Linked DNA regions of Homo sapiens: all the other regions are linked to region 1. Evidence: promoter capture Hi-C in human tissues and cell types (Jung and others, 2019). All regions are on one chromosome and are shown on one strand. Each heading gives the region's core, a stretch centred on a gene start or on the middle of the fragment in contact. The rest is flanking DNA. Distances are from core to core; before and after follow the strand shown.

What was found. Contacts are between HindIII fragments. The study calls those that stand out against the background at their distance.
Region 2: a contact is called between a fragment that was not itself captured here and the fragment with the promoter of TOR4A in region 1, in 1 of the 25 tissues and cell types used here (dorsolateral prefrontal cortex).
Region 3: a contact is called between a fragment that was not itself captured here and the fragment with the promoter of TOR4A in region 1, in 1 of the 25 tissues and cell types used here (pancreas).

What each region holds. Positions count from the first base shown.
Region 1 is chr9:137,276,306-137,279,091 of GRCh38, forward strand. It overlaps TOR4A (torsin family 4 member A), which reads left to right and starts at 1,421. Exons shown (of 2, transcript NM_017723.3): 1 at 1,421-1,602; 2 at 2,348-2,786. The coding sequence starts at 2,385. RefSeq lists silencers at 1,322-1,641, 1,922-1,981. The HindIII fragment of the contact is 16,896 bases long and covers 1-2,786 here.
Region 2 is chr9:137,337,225-137,340,010 of GRCh38, forward strand. All of the region lies in intron 17 of EXD3 (exonuclease 3'-5' domain containing 3), which reads right to left. Among named protein-coding and RNA genes, the nearest start is that of NRARP, 36 kb to the left of the region's middle. The HindIII fragment of the contact is 4,297 bases long and covers 1-2,786 here.
Region 3 is chr9:137,320,313-137,323,098 of GRCh38, forward strand. The region is part of intron 19 of EXD3 (exonuclease 3'-5' domain containing 3); the gene reads right to left. Among named protein-coding and RNA genes, the nearest start is that of NRARP, 19 kb to the left of the region's middle. RefSeq lists enhancers at 9-643, 644-1,277. The HindIII fragment of the contact is 3,018 bases long and covers 1-2,786 here.

The sequences.
Region 1 (2,786 bases), core at 171-2,670:
CCCTTGAGCGAGTCCCTTTCCTGCAGAGGGCTCTGGCCTGAGGATTTGCTGGGCCAGCCTCTGGCAGAAGCAGCTCCAGCCCTGGGTGCACTTGGAGGCAGGGCAGAGGCTTTGCTGCAGGTTTTCCAGGGCTCGGTCAGCCTGCATCTGCCCGAGGGCCTCCCCTCCAGGGTCCTCTCTGTGTCAGAAGAAGCACCGAGACTCAAAGCCTGAGGCCCCCAAAGGACCCCAACCTCCGTGCTGGGGCCACGGGGCCTGGACAGCCAACCTCCTTCCGCTCTGGTCCCACAGAGGCCGGGGAGTGGGCCCAAAGAGCACCAGCATTCCACCTGGTGTGTGCGGCCCCCGCGGCCTCGACAATTGGGGATCCGGGCCCCCGAGCACCCCTTGCACAGGGGAGGGGAGCCCTAGGCCTGGCTCCTGGAGGGGAGCGTGATAGTCCGGTGGACCCCATACCCTGGAGAGAATGGAAACCCCCAACCCACGACCGGTTTCCCTGATGGAGCCTGTCTGGTTGGGTGCAGTGTGTGAGGAATATACAGCTGGAACCATCAGGCCCGGGCTGGCTGTTGGGAGGAGTGGGGCGTCCCTGGGACTGCGGGGTCCTGAGCTGAATGCCAGCAGCACTGGTGTGGCTGGAGCGGCCACCTTGCCCCTCCTTGGAAGGCGGCTTCCAGGCTGGGCCAGGGTAGGAGGAGTCCAGGGTCCTTTAGGCAGGCCGGCAGGGGGAAGGGCCCAGAGCTCCAGCTCCTGGCTCCCGGCCCAAGTTGTTTCTAAATTTGTTCCCCAACCCCCACAGGGACCCTGAGCCGCACGTGGTTTTTTCCGTGATAGAACTTCCGTCTGTGTGTGCTGGCCTGTCCTGGGCAGGGGGCTCCAGGCTGGGGACGGAGGAAGGGGGAAAGGAAAGACAATGAGCCCACTTTGGGGGGCCCCCGATTGGGGTCAGGAGGGGAATGAAAAAGCGGGGAGAGGAGTAATAAGAGAGGGATTGGGGGTATGCAGCTCGGCAGAGGACCCTGCCCGCCCCCTGTGCTGCTGCCTTGCTCCCGCCTTGCTTACACAGGGCCTGGAGCCCCTCCCCCCAGCTGTAAGCCCTGTGTGTGGGGTGACAGGTGGAAGGGATAACCTGGGGGAGGTGGGGGCCCTGGAGGACAGGCTGAGGTGCAGGAGCCCAGGGTGGGGGCACAGCATGCAGCAGGGGCCCTCGGCCTCACCAGGTGTCCTGAGCCTGACCAAGCCAGGAGGGCTCTGAGCGCTAGAGAACTGAAGCGGGAATGTGACCTCCGGCCAGGGGATCTGGGCAAGCCGGCCAGGCCTCCCCCCTTTGGCGCCTCCGTCCAGCCCAAGTCCCGCCTGGGCCGCACCCCCTGACTCACTTCCTTTGCATAGAAGCGGAAACCTCCCCAGAGCTTCCTCTACTCCGGCCGGCCGCTCCCTGGGGACCCACAGGTGTCGCTGCCCCTCCAGGCCGAAGCTGGCCCAGGAGGCCCCTGGCCCACCCCCTCGCCCTGGGAGGCGCATTTCCTGCTTGGAGTCTCAGGCCCCAGCGTCTGGCACAGGCAGGGGCCTGCGGAGCTGAGGGCAGTGGACCAGCTGCAGGTAGGGGGTGGGTTGGGGCCCAGGGCCCAGTTCCTGCCAGTCAGTGGCTCTCTTGCTCCGACCGGCCTCTTCTTTCTGTCCATCTTTTCGTTTCACCTCCACTAGTCTCCGGGGGGCTCCCTGCACTGCTCAGCTCGTTCACTGGAGGGGTGTTGGGAGGACCCCAGTTTTGGAGTCGGGGCTGGGAGGCCTGGGTTGAGCCTGGGGACGGGGCCCGGGCCTATTCTCAAAATCATAAGTTCCAGCCAGACCCCCGCCAAGTGTTCTGGAGCGTGTGGGGGCGTCTCTGAACTCCTGGGCGCTCAGGCCTCTGCTTCCCGCGGCCCCTCCTTGGGAGACGGCCCAGTCCAGTGGGAGCCGCGGGCGGGGGCAGGGTCCGGGGGTGACTGTTCACCCCAGTGGGCGCCTGGGCGGCCACTGACTCCTTCGACGACTCCTCCAGGAAGCCGGGGCGGCCACCAGATAAGCCTCTACCCCGCCACTTCCTCAAGGCCCGCGGCCGTTTATGGGAAGACCCGAGAGATTTGCATCGGGGCCCTGCGGAGGGGCGGAGGGGCGGAGGGGCGGAGGGGTCGCTTGCCGGTCTGAGGGGCGAGGCCGCGACCAGGCCCCTGGCCCTGGGGCAGCCCGGGCCGCACCCCACGGGACTCCCAGGGGGTAAGATCACTCCGGGGACCGGTTCCGGCGGCCCGCGGGAAAGGGCAGTGGCGGGAGTCCAGAGACCCTCCCCGTCTTCCCGTTGCAGGGAGGGCGACCTGTATGCGGAGCGCCGTTCCTGCGACATGGACCGCGGCCAGCCCAGCCTGGAGCCTGCTGCCGCGGCCCCCCGAGCCTCGGGCCGGTGCGTGATCGCGCCCGTGCGCGCTGTGCTCCGCCTGCGCCGCCGGGTGTGTGTCCTACGCAAACGGCGCCTCCTGCAGCCGGGTGGGGGGCCCGACGTCGGGACCGGGGCGCCCAGGCCGGGCTGCAGCCCCCGGGCACCGCGCGCGGACCTGGACCAGCCAAAGTTCTTCACCTTCGACAGCCCCGCGGAGCTACCCTCCAGGACGCCACGCAAGAAGCGCCGGCGCAGCCGCCTGGTGCTTTACCCGGAGACCTCGCGCAAGTATCGGCCGCGCGTGGAGCACAGGAGCCGCGCGCAGCGCTGCCTTCTGCTGCTAGTCGCCATCGTGGGCTTCCAAGTT
Region 2 (2,786 bases), core at 180-2,679, 61 kb after region 1:
GCACCTACTAACATAACTTTAAAACATATAAGGCAAACACTGACGTAACTGCATGGAAAATCTGATGAATGTACCATCACAGGAACCTTCTGTATGTCTCTCTTGGTAGAATCAGGCAGAAAAGTAAATAGGATAAAGATGATTTAGGCTGGGTGCGGTGGCTCACACCTATAATCCCAGCAGTTTGGGAGGCCAAGGCGGGCGGATCACAAGGTCAGGAGTTCCAGACCAGCCTGGCCAATATGGTGAAACCCTATCTCTACTAAAAATACAAAAATTAGCCGGGTGTGGTGGCGGACACCTGTAATCCCAGCTACTTGGGAGGCTGAGGCAGGAGAATTGCTTGAACCCGGGAGGCGGAGCTTGCAGTGAGCCGAGATTTCGCCACTGCACTCCAGCCTGGGCGACAGAGCGAGATTTCTTCTCAAAAAAAAAGATGTTTTGAACGACACATTTGGCAAGCTGGATCTACTGAGTGTGTGCATATGTTGGGGGGTAGGTGGAGTGGGAGGGAGAGAGGGGGAGAGAGATGAGCATGACTGGAAGGGAATACCATGTATCTTTTTTTTGTTTTGTTTTTTGAGATGGAGTCTTGCTCTGTTGCCCAGGCTGGAGTGCAGTGACGCAATCTTGGCTCACTGCAAGCTCCACCTCCCGGGTTCATGCCATTCTCCTGCCTCAGCCTCCCGAGTAGCTGGGACTACAGGCGCCCACCACCATGCCCAGCTAATTTTTTGAATTTTTAGTACAGACAGGGTTTCACTGTGTTAGCCAGGATGGTCTCGATCTCCTGACCTCGTGATCTGCCCGCCTCGGCCTCCCAAAGTGCTGGGATTACAGGCGTGAGCCACTGTGCCCAGCCAATACCATGTATCCTTTTACAGTCCATGTGGATCATTTATAAAAAGGACCATCTACTTGGCTACAAAGCAAATCTTAAGAAATTTCCAAAATTGGAAATATACAGACTATTTTCCTGAAGTTAGGTTAGAAATCATTTTTAAGAAGATAACTAAAAAGCCCCAAGATCCAAGCTTTCTAAAATTGAAAAACCTTCTAAAGAACGAAGTCAAATAAGCAATCATAATTGATATTCAAACGTTGTTAGAACTAAAAACAATGAAAACACTGTATATCAAAACTGATATAGCGCAGTGAAAACAATACTTTGAGAAAAATTTATGGCCTTAAACACTTATATCATAAAATATAAGAGTCTGAAAATTAAAGAGCTAAGCAACGCCACTTGGAAACAAACCCAAGAAAGCAAAAGGAAGGAAATTATAAAGATAAGAACAGAAATTGATGAGATAGACAACAAAAATGCAATAGAAAGACTTAACAAAGCCAAATACTGGTTATTTTAAAAGGCAGTAAGTTGGCCGGGCGCAGTGGCTCACGCCTGTAATCCCAGCACTTTGGGAGGCTGAGGAGGGCAGATCACGAGGTCAGGAGATCGAGACCATCCTGGCTAACATGGTGAAACCCCGTCTCTACTAAAAATACAAAAAAAAAAAAAAAAGCTGGGAGTGGTGGCGGGCGCCTGTAGTCCCAGCTACTCGGGAGGCTGAGGCAGGAGAATGGCGTGAACCCGGGAGGCGGAGCTTGTAGTGAGCCAAGATCGCGCCACTGCACTCCAGCCTGGGCAACAGAGCGAGACTCCATCTCAAAAAAAAAAAAAAAAAGGGCAGTAAGTTGACACATCTCTGCGAGAGCATGAGAAGAGTGAGAGCAAAAGGAAGCCACAATAAAAGAGAGGGAACCCAGCTGCAGACACAGCAGAGCCTTAAGAGCGGACACCGACAATCTATAACAATCTATACTTACATATTTGAAATGTCGGATTAAATGGACACATTCCAGAAAAATTATAAATTACCAAATGTGATCAAGAAGACACAGCCAGCCAAGTGGTTCTATAACTATTAATAAAACTCAGTATCAGAACATTCTCCCCAAAGAAAACATCAGGCCAGGAAGCCTCACAGGAAGTGAGCCAGTTTCAGGAGCAGATAATTTAAACATTACTCAGTTGCAGAAAAAAGAGGGAAAACTTCCCAATGTATTTATGAGGCCAGAAAAAAAGAGAAAGGAAAATTATATGTCAGATGTACCCAGAAAGATGGATGCAAACTTCCTAACAAAAATCACAGACCAGGCCGGGTGAGGTGCCACATGCCTGTAGTCCCAGCCATAGTCTCACTGAGGTGGGAGGATCACTTGAGCCCAGGAGTCTGAGGCCAGCCTGGGTAACACAGCAAGACGCCACTTCAAAAAAAAAAAAAAAAAAAAAATCACAGACCAAAGTCCGCAATGTATTAAGAAGGGTAATATGCGGGACCAAGTTGAATTTAACCCAGGAAAGAAAAATTAGTCCCAAATTCAAAGAGCTAATAATGTCATTCATCACATTTACAGATTAAAGGAAAAATAACCTTATGAGTATCTGAAAAGCTGCCAGGAAAGCATTAGGTAGGTCGAATTCAATGTTCATTCATAACAAAAACCTACAGCAAATGTGGAATCATGGAACTGCCTCAGCCTGGTACAGAATATTGAGCAACCACCTTACTTCATGTTAAAACATTCCTTTCTAAATCAGAAACAAGACAAGGATGGCTACCATCAGCATTTCTATTCGACACTGTCTTGGAGATCTTGACTAATGAAATAAGATAAAGAAGGAAAAGATATAAGGATTGGAAAGGAAGAAATAAAACCCTCATAGTTTGCAGATGACGTGTACGAACAGAACCCCAAATAATGGACAACCAATTCAGTAAGAG
Region 3 (2,786 bases), core at 206-2,705, 44 kb after region 1:
ATTCCCCGCCGGCTGTTTGCAGTCTTTCAGATCCAGATGCTCCTTCCCTCACTGCCTTGGTCCTGGACAGCTGGCGCTGCCCTCTCCAGCCTGGACAGTTGCTGGCCCCCCACGGGGGTGCAGCTCTGGCCTTAGCCCCTCCCAGGCCTGCTCTACCTGCAGCCCCCCTGGGCCTGGCGCTCCTGCTTGCCACAGCAGGGGCAGCTTGGGGGTTGCAGGGTGTGGGTGGCAGAGTGGCATCAGCAGCTTGGAGCTGCCAGTAGCCAGCAAAGAGGCAGGGCGGACATGGGTCAGGGCGGCCCCCACTGCTCAGCCCCCGACGCCCCCATCCCATCCACTCAGCCAGGCCAAAGTCTGCCCTTCTGCCTCACACCCTGGACACCCTTCTCCATGCAGGGCTTGGCGGCCCCTCCATGCCTGGCCTGGGTCCTCAGGGGCACTCCCCAGCACCCGGCTGGCCAGGGCTCCAGCAGGGGTTTCCTCCCAGCTACCCAACTTCCTGTTTTCTCAAGAAAATGCAGCAGCCGATTCTGAACAGCTCATTAACATGCCTCCCCAGGCGTCCCGGACATCCTGGGGTCTTTACAGCGCTTGCTGGCCTGAGCACAGACAAAGAGAGGCAGCGGACGCGGTTCCTGCCGCCCCTGGAGCCCAAGGCTGCAGGAGAGGCCCCTGGAGCACACTTCCTTGCCACCTGAGGCAGAGGCCGCGGTCCCCGCAGGGCAGTGGGGTCAGAGGGTCAGACTGCACCCCCAGGCCAGGGGCAGTGGGAGGTCCAGGGGCCTGTGTGTACAGGTGCCTGGCCGGCTGCAGATCCGAGCCGAGCCGGAGCTTTCCCTCTTTCCTTCCTGCTTCAATCCCCGCCAGGCCCAGCCTGAGGCTGTGGGGGCAGAAGGGCGGTAGCAGAAGGCGCAGGCCTGCATCTGTTTCTGCTCAGCCAGGTGGGTGCCCTTGAGGACCATGGGGTGGAGCTGAGCTCAGGGCCCCTCCCTGCCCAGCCCAGGCACCAGCAGGGACCCTGACAGTGGCCTCCATGAGGGGATCTCCCTCCATGAGGGGGTCCCAAAACTTCCCCCAGAATTGGGCTTGGGAGGCTGGGATTACTCACGCCTGTCATCCCAGCACTTTGGGAGGCTGAGGCAGGAAGATCACCTGAGGTCAGGAGTTCAAGACCAGCCTGACCAACATGGTGAAACCCTGTCTCTACTAAAAATACAAAAATTAGCCGCCCGTGGTGGTGGGCACCTGTAATCCCAGCTACTCAGGAGCCTGAGGTGGGAGAATTGCTTGAACCTGGGAGGCGGAGGCTGCAGTGAGCTGAGATTACATCACTACACTCCAGCCTGGGCGATGGAGTGAGACTCCGTCCCACCCCCAAAAAACCCCAGGAAACAAAACTGGGCTTGTTGGAGCAGCCCCGACCTGCTGCTCCAGGCGGAATATTGATGTGGCCCTAACTGCGGAACGTTCTGGAAGCAGCCCGTACCCTCCACCGGGAACTGCCGAGAGCCAGCACAGCCCACAGTCCCCCTTGCTCCCGTGTCGCCCACGGAGACCCTGGCGCCTTGAGTGGAGGCGCAAAAGGCAGCATCAACTCCCCCCAGACTGGCCATGCCCAGGTGCCAGTTGGTGTGGGGCATAGCAAGCTTGGACAGTGCAGCCCTGGGCAGGTGCCTCAGCCCAGTCCCCCACTGGGGACAGGAGAGGAGGGAGAGAGGTGAGTTGGGCTTTGGTGCCCCCACCAGCCTCCTCTATGGATCTCCACCGAGGTGCGGCAGTTCCCACTCAGGGCTTCTGTTGCCCAGACCTTGTTAGACGTCACCAAGCAGACGCAGGCTGTCCTGCGTGTTGCCTTTGGAAAGTGGGACCCACCCAGCCTGAAGGGACTTCCACAATTTCCCTCGATTCCTTCTAGAAGCCCCATGGGAGCCAGAGGGAATTCCCCAAATCCAAGCCAATGCCTGATTGGAGCTGTCCCCGTGGCCATGCCAGCCTGCACTAGGGATGCTCTGCCGACGCCTCACCCTGGACCAGGGATTCTCTGCCGACACCTCACCCCGGACCCACAAGGGATTCTCTGCCAACATCTCACCCCAGACCCACGAGGGATGCTCTGCCGACACCTCACCCCGGACCCACGAGGGATGCTCTGCCGACACCTCACCCCGGACCACGAGGGATGCTCTGCCGACACCTCACCCCGGACCACGAGGGATGCTCTGCCGACACCTCAACCCGGACCACGAGGGATGCTCTGCCGACACCTCACCCCGGACCACGAGGGATGCTCTGCCGACACCTCACCCCGGACCACGAGGGATGCTCTGCCGACACCTCACCCCGGACCCCCGAGGGATTTTCTGCCGACACCCCACCCCGGACCCCCAAGAGATTCTCTGCCGACACCCCACCCCAGACCCACGAGGGATGCTCTGCCGACACCCCACCGCGGACCCCCGAGGGATTCTCTGCCGACACCCCACCCCGGACCCACGAGGGATGCTCTGCCGACACCCCACCCCGGACCCACGAGGGATGCTCTGCCGACACCCCACCCCGGACCCACGAGGGATGCTCTGCCGACACCCCACCCCGGACCCACGAGGGATGCTCTGCCGACACCCCACCCCGGACCCACGAGGGATGCTCTGCCGACACCCCACCCCGGACCCACGAGGGGTGATCTGCCGACACCCCACCCCGGACCCACGAGGGGTGATCTGCCGACACCCCACCCCGGACCCACGAGGGGTGATCTGCCGACACCCCACCCCGGACCCACGAGG